Regions from separate parts of the Homo sapiens genome. Here all the other regions are linked to region 1. Evidence: promoter capture Hi-C in 16 types of primary human blood cells and fetal thymus (Javierre and others, 2016). All regions are on one chromosome and are shown on one strand. The core of a region is centred on a gene start or on the middle of the fragment in contact, and the rest is flanking DNA. Distances in the headings are between cores, read along the strand shown.

Evidence for each region. The method cuts DNA at HindIII sites, captures the fragments that hold promoters and counts their contacts. A CHiCAGO score of 5 or more calls a contact.
Region 2: a fragment that was not itself captured here is called in contact with the fragment with the promoter of LSMEM1 in region 1 in 4 of 17 cell types (total CD8 T cells, naive CD8 T cells, activated CD4 T cells and 1 more); the score reaches 7.8 in total CD8 T cells.
Region 3: a contact is called between a fragment that was not itself captured here and the fragment with the promoter of LSMEM1 in region 1, in 4 of 17 cell types (total CD4 T cells, naive CD4 T cells, total CD8 T cells and 1 more). The highest score is 8.5, in total CD4 T cells.

What each region holds. Positions count from the first base shown.
Region 1 is chr7:112,477,768-112,482,482 of GRCh38, forward strand. LSMEM1 (leucine rich single-pass membrane protein 1) reads left to right here and starts at 3,224. Exons shown (of 4, transcript NM_182597.3): 1 at 3,224-3,579. The HindIII fragment of the contact is 7,612 bases long and covers 1-4,715 here.
Region 2 is chr7:108,603,554-108,607,940 of GRCh38, forward strand. The region is part of intron 3 of LOC105375448 (a long non-coding RNA gene); the gene reads left to right. Among named protein-coding and RNA genes, the nearest start is that of DNAJB9, 36 kb to the left of the region's middle. The HindIII fragment of the contact is 4,915 bases long and covers 282-4,387 here.
Region 3 is chr7:108,585,917-108,590,647 of GRCh38, forward strand. No RefSeq gene overlaps it. Among named protein-coding and RNA genes, the nearest start is that of DNAJB9, 18 kb to the left of the region's middle. The HindIII fragment of the contact is 6,518 bases long and covers 1-4,731 here.

The DNA.
Region 1 (4,715 bases), core at 1,974-4,473:
CTGTTTGCATAGCTGTGATCATACTTGTATGTTCACTCGTGAATTAATTTAATGTGCTTACATTTTCATTCTCATACAACGTTTTGTCTTGGAGTTAATGCTCTTTTTTTTGGCTTTTTATGCACATCATTGATTCTTCCCAAACAGTCCCAAATAAATTTGTCACAACTTTTCTTGATTCTGTACTTGTTTCAATCTAGACTAGTTTCTCTCATCCAATTGTATAGCAGTTTTCCTGAGACAGCACTATCGTGAGGATTTGTTTTTCTTTCTCTTGAATTGTATCCCTCATTTTCTGGATCCCATGTCTTAATTTACTTCTTTGTTAACATGGAGCACTTCTTTCAGTAGTTTCTTGGGAATGAGTGCGTGAGAGATCAGTCAGTTATTTAGTGACTTCATATTTCTGAAAGATAGTTTGCATGGAAATTCTAGGTGGAAAATCAAATTTGGAATTTTTGAAAATTTTGACAAGTGTATTCAAATTCAGAATTTTGAAGGCATTGCTCTATTCTAATTTGCAAAATCTTGAGATATCTGATGCAGTTTTTATTTTTATTTCTTTGTTTTCTCAGCATCTCTGTTTCTAGTGTTCTAAAATTGCATGATACTGTGCTTTGGTGGGATTGGCAACCTGGAAAATATTAAGTTCTTCATCTCTTCTCTTCCTCCTCATTTTCTTTGTTCTGGAACTCTATGACATAGTGGAGCTCCCAAATTGAATCTTGGGCCTTATTTATTTTTTTTTTTTCTGTCTGGGATATTTCTCTAAGACAATTTTCCAATTTGTATTGCATTTTGTTTTTGGCTAGCATTAAATTACTTGCCTCTGTGTAGCTCCATGCCACACTCTTGCCTCTAAATCCTAGGCCTGCCTGAATTCTGCAGGATCAGTCCTACTGTCACTCATCTGTGATAGCCCTGCTAAGGCAGATACCACTCTTCTTACCATGTTCAATACATTTATTGAGCTCTTCAGTATTGTTTCTTCCTATTTTAATTTTTCTGGTTTTGTAATTTGTACTCCTGCTTTTTTACTGGGCTTTTGGGAGGAAGAAGGTATAGAGTGTTAATCTGCATGTTGAATTTATATGCAGGTGACTTTATTCATGAAACTTGTGGTAACTGCTAGACAAGGGTGGCTGGGTGTTCAATGTGTAAGAATGCTTGTGTTTTCTTGAAAGTAGAAAAATGTTGTGTTATAGACTAGTTGTTCATTGCTTGATTCTTGATTAATTTTGCCCGCTTTCATTATTTTGAGGCTCAAGCATTTTGAAGTATTCATTGTCTGTGACTCCTCTTTGATGGGTACTAAATTTCCTGGGAGTGAATTTAGATACCCTGAGATGTAATATATGAAAGAAAAAGCAAATACTTGAGAATGTCCCTAGATTAGACACTTCATGTGAGAATATCTCTTTTTGTGACCCAAAACTCTTTTTTTTTCTTTTGAGATGAAGTTTCGTTTTTGTTGCCCAGGCTGGAGTCCAATGGTATAATCTGCCTCAGCCTCCTGAGTTGCTGGGATTACATGCATGTGCCACCACACCCGGCTAATTTTGTATTTTTAGTAGAGATGGGGTTTCTCCTTGTTGGTCAGGCTGGTCTCGAACTTCCGACCTCAGTTAATCTGCCTGTCTCGGCCTCCCAAAGTGCTGGGAATACAGGCATGAGCCACCGCACTCGGCCCCAAAACTCTTCTTAAAGGTGGTCTTGCAGGTATGTTATAGTTAAAATGAAGTAGGTTGTCTTGCTTTGTTCTTAAGTGGCTTTCCAGAAGTCTAACTGGTCTAAAGGCAGTCTTATCCCCCTCACTGGTGTATAGTTCAATTCAGACTTGAATGCGAGGTATGGGTTTACATCTCATCTCTGCCACTTATAATCAGTGTATCCCTCAACAATTAAATTCCTTAGTCTCCATTTCCTTCCTCCTTCAGGGGAAGTTAATATTCCACAAAGTTAGAAGTTACAGGAGAGGAAAAGTAGTAAACGCCCCAAAATGAGGCAGTTACTTCTATTATATCTTCAAAGGATACATGGCTCAAGGCAGATCAGGTAGTTGGGAGATTTCTTAAAAACAGCATAATAGCTAACATGAACATTTTCATTATTCAGAGAAATTTGACATAGCTTTTTAACGTATGTTTCTGAGAAAAGTTACTAGTTATATTGTCTTCCTCCAAGAATTAGTCTTTGGGTACAGATGAGGCTTGAAAAAATGACATTCCCTCTTAGACTAGGTAGTGTGAAGGGAAAAAAAAAATGACATTCCTCTTCCCCCAAAGCAGAGTGAGGTCCGTATGGGATATAGGTGTAAAGAAAATTTTGGGCCGGGCATGGTGGCTCAAGTTTGTAATCCCAGCACTTTGGGAGGCCGAGGTGGGTGGATCACTTGAGGTCAGGAGTTCAAGACTAGCCTGACCAACATGGTGAAACCCCATCTCTACTAAAAATAAAGAAATTAGCCAGCTATGGTGGCACATACCTGTAATCCCAGCTACTTGGGAGGCTGAGGCAGGAGAATCTGGAAGCAGGAAGGTCTCAGTAGGCTGGGATCATGCCACTGCGCTCCAGCCTGGGCAACACAGCAAGACTCTGTCTCAAAGAAAATTTTGTGGAACACCTATTTTCTCACTGACATGAAAAATGTTTCAAAGATGAATAATGTCCATCAAGCTATGGCAATGGAAGTGAGGATGATAAAGGATTGCACAGTTGTTCACAACCTCACTGTTAGTATCCTGCTGAGATAGTTGGTCTCCTCATCACTGTAGCATCTTTTATGTACAGCAGAGGGCAGAAGCTCCTTGGCATGTATGTGAGGGAACCACATATATGGAAGGCTGTTATTCCTGAGAAAGGAGGATGTGCAGACACTCACAGAACAAAGCCTTTGTAAAGGAAAGGCGGCCGATGAGATGGAGTGCTTCCTTCACCTGTGGTGGGTCTGTATCCATGAAATCGCCCACTCACAATCGCTTTTTGTAGCTACTGGAAGCACTAGGCGTCTGACCTGCCATCATCCTTGTTATGATGTCATAATCATATTCTGTCCGTGTTTATTGCAGTTCTCTGGTTTGTCTGGAGTGTTTGCAAGTCAGTCATCATAGTGGCAGCTTCCGCCTGCTACAGGATATTTATATATGGAAGCATACCATGGCAGGAGTGCTGGAAAGGTGGTGTCAGCTAACAGTTGCTTCAGCCAGATAAGGACGGTAACTTCAGTCCAATAAAAACCTCATCAGTTACCAACTAAATCAGGGCATGGTGTTTTTTTGTTGTTTTCTTTTTAAAGCATAGTTTTAGTAATATATTTACTAAAAACCTTAGACATTATGAAAAAAGTCAGGATTTGGAATCTTACACTGCTTGGCTAAATTGACACAATATAGACCAACAGTTTCATCCTGGGGCTTATGGGTCTCATAGGAGCACCCGTATGCTGAAGAAAGGCAAAGAGAGAACTACAGAATTTGTAGAAAAGTTTTGTTGTAGTTGCTTCTGAACAATTAGTTTTTGTTTGTTTGTTTTGTTTTGTTTTGTTTTTCTGGTAACCTAGCAGTCAAAGCTCACATTTTTGTAAGTAATTTGCATGCTATTACTCTACTGAGACTGAATTATGATTCTCGAGTCTGGGAAGTTTTTGTTGCATGTGCTCTGTGTTTTTCATTTTTGATAGAAATGATTTAGACTTGATTTTAAAAATTACTTCCTGAATGTGAAGAGGCATTGACTGGGAAATGAAATTAAAGAACAAATTACCATGACTCATTCAATAACACTGCTTATTAGCTTTGAATTATGCCCTATTATAACAATTCTGATTTTGTGGCAAGCAATACTGGTGTGAGTTATTTCTGTGGTTTGATACCAAGCACCTGCCTGGTTAAAAAATAAAGCACCAGGCAATTTTTCATAGACAATTATCTTTATTTGTTGGAATATTTATTTGTAAATAGTCAAAGAATTCTTAAATGACAAAAAATCAACTGTTAGCAGTGATCTAAACCAGAGGAAAATGAAATTACTTACATGTTTCCAGTCAAGGTATAAGAAAGGGTTCTGTTAAAGGGATGCTGCTTTAGCCAATCTTGGTGAATAAGCAAATTTGCACACTGGAGTTGAAAGGAGGGTCAAGTTAGTGTGATGAAGAATTGCTAGTAACACTGGCTTCTCCAGCCTTGCTGGTTGTTCCTAGATGCCCTCATTTGGAGATGCCAAAGATAGCAACTACTGGGTGTCAAACAGCCGTGGGGCCTGGTTTTAAGGCCATGTGATCTTGTATCCCTTTACTAGCAGCCTCATGAGTCATTTGCAAGTCATTTGCAGGCTCTTGGAGCCCTGGAACAGCACCCAACTCAGTTTTCTCTGCTAGTTCTTTATTTTTCCATTTGCGTGTTGCAGCTCATTAAAAAAATATTGGAATAGCATATATTTACATTGTGACTTCACTCTAAAGAAGACATTTTCTTTCAAAGCACGTCATGGCTCACTAGGTTGTTGTCTTAGTTTTTTTTGGAGTCACCTTTTGAGTAGATAGCAAGACCAGTAATATGGAGATTTTATTAGCTGTACTCTTAAAGTCAGTTTTTGTGGCCATGATTTTCTAGCTAGGTCTCTATTTTGTAAACATTGATTAAGCCTCAGTATGAAATTGAAGCAACAGCAGATACATTCCTGAAGGGGAAGCTAAGGCTCAAGGCTATTAAGTCAGA
Region 2 (4,387 bases), core at 1,489-3,988, 3.9 Mb before region 1:
GATGATTCACCCGCCTTGGCATCCCAAAGTGCTGGGATTACAGGTGTGAGCCACTGTACCTGGCTGGAAATAAGCATTTAATACTTATGTGTGATGCCCAGCAGATGCCAACAGTATTCATGGAGAGTCCCATTCCCAAGCTCTACAAAGTAGGGGTGAGGTAGAGCTAACCATCCTGTTTCACAGAGAAGCAGAGGGATTCACAGCTGTTCTCTGCCAGCCCTCATGTCTCACGATTCTGTGAAGTGACAGTTTCCATGGGCTCAGAGTAGTTGTTGCGAAGCTTTCTAGAGTCCTCTGACCCTGGAAGCTGCTAATTAAAGTGCCACCAAGATGCTTCCAGCGACTCTGAGCTAGTTACACGTACATATTAAAGAGCTGACCTTCCCCCTTCTTGTCTGTCGTACCCCACTGTGAGTGCTGTGGGTGGTCAGCAAATAATAACAGTTAATAACTTTCTCTTATTCTTTCAAAGCTCTTCAGAAATGCAAATTGCTGCCTTCAGAAGGAAGCACACGGGCCTATGAATTTTATATCAGCAGGGATTACCAATGAGTCATGCTTGATGTTGTAAAAACTATTCAGGTAGGCAGGCAGGTGCTGCAATAAGAGAATAGCATCCCTTTCCTGAATGTTCAGTTATTGAAGTGCACGCTCGCATGGGTATACACACAACCACACATGCCCAACTCACAAAAATAGACAATTATATAAAATATATGCCAAAATCTCCACAGAAAGGAAAGCTAAACTCTTTAAAACCAAATGCTTATCACGCTGCCGAAGAGAAGTAAATCTGTAAGGTGGTAAGCAGTGTTAATATGTGGGCGAGTGCCAGAACACATGCAGATGTGTGTTATTTATGCCTTTAATTGTTATTTCCAGTAGGTATCTGGCTGTCAGTGCACATGAGTTAAGTACCGTAAAATAACAGATGTCACACATCTCACAAGAACAACAGGGAGTCAATATACGCGGCAGAGTAAATCTGATTACCTTAGATAGTAAGGAAAAGAGAAAGAATGCAAAACCAGATGAGCCTATGGCTGTAATTTAAAAAACAAATTATTCCATTTGAATATGTTCTATAGTAATTATGCATTTATACTGAGTACACTAAGAGAAAAGCCATCTTGGAAGAACAGAGCCGATTTGGGTAATTGCAGTGAATTCTTATAATTTTATGTTGTCTTGGCATCCATTTTGAATACAAATTTAAGTTTGTTATACCAGAAGCGGAGCTCGATCACCCTTGACACAGTTTCTGGTTCTACACCACACCCAAATGGGCCCAGACGTGGCCAGAGATAAGAACCTAGAGGCATCTCTTCTGCATACCAGGGCTCCCTGCTTTCTCATTGGTTCCTTTAAATGAACCAGTCAGGCATTTGCCTGTGAACTGAAAGTGCCCCATACCCTATTCGTATATATATACTGCTGGCTGCCCTCTCTGTCTCTCTCTGCCTGACTCTTTGTTCTTGCCTGATGTGACCCAGGGATGAAGACTGTTCTTGACTCATTGTGCCCTCCCTACTCAGTCTCTGTAAATAAAAATCTTGGAACTTGTTTCCTATGGTGGTGGTATGTTGGATTTGCACCTTCCATCTGAAGAACCAGGGGCTGCCCCAGGCTGGGTTTCTTCCAGGAAGCCAGGGAGAGCTCAAGGTTGGGCTCCCAGTGCCAGGGCAATGGTTGGGCAGGTATAAGCTGGATGCAGGTCAGACAAAAGCCATAGGGCATCTGCTGGCTTAAACAAGTTTCCCATGTGAGGGACCATCTCTCTACCCACTTTTGGTCACTGATCAGACTACTAGGCACTAGGCCATCAGCCAAGTAAAAGAAGCATCCCCTGAAAGGCCCACTGCAAACATCCACATAGAGCTTCCCTACATTTCCCATTAGGGCAGGATTGCTAGCTGCCCTTGTGCTGGAACCCCAGTTTAGCTGGGGACTCTCAGTAACAAAGTTTCTCTTAATTCTTAAAGGAACCAAGAAAAGGGGCAGAATAAGTGAGAGAATGAACGAGAATGAAAAAAAGAATAGAACCAGTCGGCCAGTGACATTTTCTAGTGAAACACATATGGGATGCAAGAAAAGGACTCAGAAAAGCCTTGGGAGTAAATATTGAAATGATCTTGAATGATTTGGCAGGAGAAGATGTGTCAGCAGGGCTTACCGTATAGCTCCGAAGGATGGTGATGACGACACCACAGACCAAGATAGTTTACAAAGGCTTAATGGAGCTCAGATATTTGAGAAAAAAAAAAAAAAGATTAACCATATTCAGCTGAGAAAAGGGAACACAAACACATCTGGGGAAAGTAATCTTAAATAAAGATACTCAGATGGAGAAAAACATGTGTCAAGCCTGGACCTGGAGTAAAAGCAGACAGAAAAAATTTGAGTTGCAAGGGATTACAACAGCTCAGAAAGGTGAGAAGTCCCTTCTGTGGTTTTAAACGCAGAGGTGTCTCATTATGAAACCTTGATAAAGGATTTCATGTCTCTTTACAAATGCAATGAGATCCTCGTTACATATCTGAATAAATGAACCATGCCCACAATATACAATGCATTTTGAGGTTTGTGAATATGCAAAATGTAGCTGAAACTGTTCTAACTCCAACTATCATTTCTAGTCAAATGATTTTATAGAAACTTGTTTATCCTAAAGTGTAATTTTCAGATTGTAAAGAACTATTTAATAACAATCACGTTTACTATGTGCTGGGCACTTTTGTGAACACTTTACATATTTAAGTAAATAAATCCTCAGAACAGGCCCCCTCAATAGGTGCAATTGTCCCCCCACTTTCAGCAGATGAAGAATCCAAGTTACAGAGAGCTTAACGACCTTCCCAAGGTCACACATTGAATAAATGGTGATTCAGGGATTCAAACCCAGGCAGAGGATCTCCAGAGCTCATGCACCTTTAGCACTACACTAGACTCTCTGTCTGTGGCAGAAAAAATCTAACTAGATAATTCCCTTTAGTTTGGAGGATAGACTTGATCTGTGAATGAGACTAGAAGGGCCAATGAGATATCCCCAGCCTCTACCATTTATCTGGGACTATATCTTCCTGTCTACTCGCTTCCAAATATCCAGTTCCCCCTTAAAGGTAATCTGTGTGGCCTGCAGGACATGGGGACATGGGGTCTTATGTTATATTTTGTGCTCCAGCACCTGGACATGCATCATCTTTGGCGCATTGAGCTGGAGTGGTCGTGGAGAGACACAGACATGCTGAAGACTATGAGGAGCCTATATAGACCTAAGAATTCCTTATGACTTTTGTGATTTGATTGAGAAATTAGAACTGCAGTTAATTTTAGGAGAGTGTTTAAAGTGACCACAGTGGATAATTTTGGAAAATTCTCCGTGTAAACATATATAACTATGCTACATGTTACTTACAAAACATTCATTTCTTTGGGGACACTATTTGTCTCCCCAGAATCTTGAGGCATAGATGGTTGCCCCAATTACTGTGCTTTTAAGGAATACATAAGATTATGATTACATCAGAATACATTTCTCACTGGGCTGCCATTGTGCTCTTCTTTTTTCCTCTCTGGCCAAAGTCTCTTAGAAGTAGAGTTACTACTTTTTTTAGACAACAAAAGCATACTGCCTCTGGAAGACCATTGTTTAAATCCAAACTCAACGTAGGGTGAGTCTTGTGACTGATCAAATTTCCCTCTGTGCATTGGCAGCTATGAGCCTCTGAGCCAGAGTTGTGACCCAGTCCTAGTAAATATATCATCACCCTTTATTGTCTTAACATCTCTCCTATCCTTACCATTTGCCCAGTTTCTTTCTTTTCTTTTCTTTTTTTTTGAGATGGAGCCTTACTCTGTCAACCAGGTTGGAGTGCATTGGCGTGATCTTGGCTCACTGCAGCTTCTGCCTCCCAGGTTCCAGTGATTCTCCTGCCTCAGCCTCCTGGGTAGCTGGGATTACACGCACCTGCTACCATGCCCGGCTAATTTTTGTATTTTTAGCATAGACGGGGTTTCACCATGTTGGCCAGGCTAGTCTTGAACTCCTGATCTCAGGTGATCTGCCTCCCTCGGCCTCCCCAGGTGTTGGGATTATAGACGTGAGCCACCGCCCCCAGTCCATTTGCCCAATTTCTTGACTTACCGTTTTACTGGTGTATGCTGAATTGTATCCCTTTAAGATTCATATGTCAAAGTCATAACCCCTGGTATTTCAGAATGTGACTGTATTTGGACATAGGATCTTTAAAGAGGTAGTGAAGTTAAAGTGAGGTCATTAGGGCAGGCTCTAATCCAATATGACTGGTGGTGTCTTATAAGGAGAGATTAGGAAACAGATACACAGAAAAAAGACCATGTGAGGACACAGGGAGAAGGCAGCCAT
Region 3 (4,731 bases), core at 1,549-4,048, 3.9 Mb before region 1:
TAAAAAGAATTCCCCAAGTTTCCCCATCATCCTTCCATAGCAGTGGCTTCACTTTCTCTGCCTTTCTGTAAGTCCCACTATCAGTAACAAACTATTAATAATCCCACTTACAGCTGTCCCCTCCACTGTACACTGGATCACATCACTCAGGGCTTTCAAGGGCACTGCTCCAGAGATTATTTCCCTCTCCCGTCTCCCTTCTTCTCCTATGTTACTTTTTTTTTCTTTCCATTCAATAATTCCCCAGCAAACAAACCTGTTGCTATTTCTGTCAACAAATTTTTCTTTGGACCCCACTTATTCAACCAATTGTGGTCTCATTTCTTTGCTCTCTTTTGTAGCAAAACTTTTCCTAAGAGTTTTCAATCCCACCATGCCACCAAAACTTCCCTTGTCAGGGTTATCAATGAGCTGCACATTGTGAAAGCAATGTCAGATAACGAATAAATCTGTCATTTCTCTGACTTAATCTTACATACACTTCAACACTTTCCTCCTTGATAGTCTTTCTTTACTTATGTCCCAGAACACTGATCTCTGGGTTTTTCTTTCCTCCATTGGTTGCTTTTTCTCGGTGTCTTTTGTTGATTCCTCTTCCTCTCCTTTGCATCTTCTCAGTTCTGATTCTTTCTGTCCTCTCTCCCCTCCAGTTCTTTCTTATCTCCTCCTTTTCCCTCTTCTCCTTTTTGAGTCTCTTCCCCTTCCCCGTCCCCATTCCCTTTCCTTTCCTTTCCTTTCCTTTCCTTCCTCTTCTCCTTTCATCACTTCCATTCTCTTCTACTCCTGGTTATACTCGTTCCTTTGGTGAACTCTTTCATCCCATAGTTTTAACCATCAACATGCCTGCCACTTCCAAATTTTTATCTCTAGCCAAGATTCATATATTAAAAACTGCAGATTCATATATCCAACTGTCCACTTAACATGTCTAATGTGGTATTGTGGATATTCCAACTCTGACCTGCTCCAGCTCAGCTGATTGTAAAGCCATCCTTCCAGTTGTTTAGGTTAAAACCCCAGAGTGATTCTTGATTTCTTTCATGCTCTTAGCACTCACACTCCATAGGCAATCCCACTGGCTTTGCCTTCAATGTATTTTCAGTATCTGACAGCTTCCTTTCAACTCCAATGTTAGTACCAGCATCATCTTTCATAGGGATTATTAGGTAAAAGAAAGTTTTCATTCTCTACCCCTTATTAGTCTGTTATCAAGCCAACAATGAGAGTTATTCTTTTTAAAGGTACATAAGAACTTGTTATCTTTCTGCCTAAAGCCTTCCATTTACTCCCTCCCCATTCCCAGTAAGAGCTAAATCATTTACAATAGTCTATGAAGTCCTACACAATCAGCTTACCTTCCCTTTACCTCACTGATTTTATCTTTGACTGCTTTTCCCCTTTGTATTAGCCAGGGTTCTCTAGAGCAACAGAACTAATAGGGTATATATTATAAATAAGGGGATTATTAAGGAGAATTGACTCACATGATCACAAGGTGAAGTCCCATGATAGTCTGTCTGCAAGGTGAGGAGCAAGGAAGCCAGTGGTGGATCAATCTGTGGCCAAAGGCTCGAGAACCCCTGGCAAACCACTGGTATAAGTCCAAGACTCTTAAAGCTCAAGAACTTGGAGTCTTATGTTCCAGGGCAGGAAGCATCCAGCACAGGAGAAAGATGAAGGCCAGAAGACTCAGCAAGTCTACTCTTCTGTCTTCTCCTGCCTGCTTTATTCTAGCTGCACTGGCAGCTGATTAGATGGTGCCCACCCAGATTGAGGATGGGTCTGCCTCTCCCAGTCCACTGACTCAAATGTTAATCTCCTTTGGCAACACCCTCACAGAACATCCAGGAACAATACTTTGCATCCTTTAATCCAGTCAAGTTGACACTCAATATTAACCATCACACCCTTCTTCATTCTGTACTAGCCAGACAGGAATCCTCACTCTTCCAGGAACACGCCAGGCTTGCTTTCTCTTTAGGGCCTTTGCACTAGCTGGTTCCTCTGTTTGGAGCATTCTTGATTATACAGCCAATCCCTTCAGCTTCTTCCAGTCTTGGCTCACCTGTCACCTCTTCAATGGGGCCTTTCTGGCCACCCTATTTAATACCACACTGTGTCCCTCCTCCCTCACACTCTCCATCCCTTTATCTTACTCTGTTTTTATTTTCACACAGCACTTATCACCTTATTTCATTACTTATTATGTTATTATCTGTTTCCTCCTGATAGAATATAAGCTACTTGGAGGTAGGGATCTTCCACTGCTGTGTCTCAAGTGCCTATATCTGTGACTGGTATAGGGTAAATTTTCCATAACTATTTAGTGAATAAGTAAATTCGACGTCATATGTGTATATCTCATAATTTGATTTTCTGAAAAGTTACAAAATCCTTTACTTATATGATAAACTAGACTCATCTGCATTGGGACATCTTCCTTATACCAAATAAATGATATCTGTTAATAAAGATATTGGGATACAGGTTTAGTCATCCACAAATTTTTTTTAAATTTTTTTTTAAATTTTTTTTTTTTTTTTTTTTTGAGATGGAGTCTCGCACTATAGCCCAGGCTGGAATGCAATGATGTGATCTTGGCTCACTGCAACCTCCACCTCCTGGGTTCAAGTGATTCTCCCGCCTCAGCCTCCTGAGTAGCTGGGATTACAGGTGTGCACCACCACACCTGGGTAATTTTTGTGTTTTTAGTAGAGACAGGGTTTCACCATGTTGGCCAGGCTGGTCTCGAACTCCTGGCCTCAGGTGATCCACCCGCCTTGGCCTCCCAAAGTGCTGGGATTACAGGCGTGAGCCACCGTGCCCACCTCACAATATGTTTTTTTAATCCCAAATGATAACATCTCTTTTTCTATAACTTTTCTATCATTATTTTTCTTCCAGATATTTTAGTGTGAGAAAATAATTTTCTGTTCAAATGCCATTGTCCAAACTGTCAGAGATACTATCTTATAAGGAATTATTATTGGAAGGAAACAAAATCAGTTTATATATCAATACTGGTGGATCTTGAGATACTTAGAAAACTAGGTCACATCCCCTCAGTTATGAGATCAGAGGGGAACTTAAAAGAAAGAAGACTTTTACCTTGTTAGAAAGTTAAAATCAAGTGTGAACTCTTTTTATGTAGACATCTTCTGTGTGAGTTTATTTTTTAAGGACTTTTATTTATCTTTTTTTTTTTTTTAAGAGACAGGGTCAGCCAGGCAGTGGCATGATCACGATCATAGCTCACTGCAATCTTGAACTCCTGGGTTCAAGCCATCCTCCAGCCTCAGCCTGGACTGCAAGGCATATGCCACCACACTTGGCTAATTTTTTAATTTTTATGTTCTTTTTTTTTTTTTTTTTGTAGAGACAGAGTCTCACTATGTTGCCCAGGCTGGTCTTGAATTCCTGGCCTCAAGTAACCCTTGCATCTCCACCTCCCAGAGTGCTGGGATTACAGGCATGAGCCATCATGCCCAGCTGAGGACCTTTAAAAGAGCAACTCCTCCCTGTCTCAATTCCTCTGAGCTGCTTGTATTGGCACAGTGACATGCAATTGAAATTTCATTTTCAAGCCATAATAAATGGTATACTGAAAATTTCCCCTATTTGTTAGTTACAAACAAAACAATTCTGTCTTTTCCTCCACTTCTAGAATATTTTCAAATTGGTCATATAGGAGGTCAAAAGAAATCTCTATGAATTCATGTTTGACAATCTATAAAGTATGTTTCAGCTGGGACTGCTAACAGAAAAGACTGATGTGAACCTGATATCACCAATGGCTACTTTATGGGACCTGAAAAGAGCTTCATAGAGGATTTCAGAGCCATTTAGCCCTAGGTCCAGCTGTGCCTGAAACCATCTTTCCTTGAACACTTCAGTTATATGAGACAAAAAAGTCTCCTTTTCACTTAAGCCAATTTGAATTGAATTCTAGCACTTGCCACTCACATGGACATTTTATCAAGTGTCAAGGGCAACAAGGAGTTACACTGAGTTCCCCCAGAGAAGGAAGGAGAAAGATAGAAGCACAAGGGAAGCTAATGTTTAGATCACAAGATAGAAACTGCTGCCCAGGAGGAGAGAAAAAACCCCTGAGGTTGGAAGAACGCAGGGTGTCTGATTAATGAATGGCAGGGCTATCCTCCCACTCAGCTGCCCTGGAGGATTCCACAGAAATGGCACATGCATGCCTGTGATTTGTTCCTTAAGTGCCTCAGCCTTAAGAGCAGTAGTAATGCCTGTGACCAATCCTGTGGTCAGTGTAGGGTATAGGGCTCCCAAAATATTGTGCCATGGCCTAACAGGGTTATCCAGTTGCCTCAGTGTGCTGTAAATTTTTTTTTCATTTTTACTGTATTCCCTGATGTAAAAAAAGAGATTGGAAAGCACTAGAAGAGGATTGCCATGTGAGGTTTCTATCATAGAGCTTGTAGCAGACAAATCATCATCCCCCAAAGATGTCCATGTCCTAATTCCTAGAACCTGCGAATATGTTGGGTTACCTGGCAAGGGGGAATTAAGGTGGCAGATGGAATTAAGTTTGTTAATCAGATGGCTTCAAAATAAGGAGATTATTCTGGATTATCCATGTGGACCCAGTGTAATCACAAGGGTTTTTAAATGGGAAGGAGGGAGACGGAAGAATTAGAATCTCTGGGAGATGGCATCATCCTGAGAAAGACTGGAGCTGCCCTTGCTGGCTTTGAAGATGGAGGA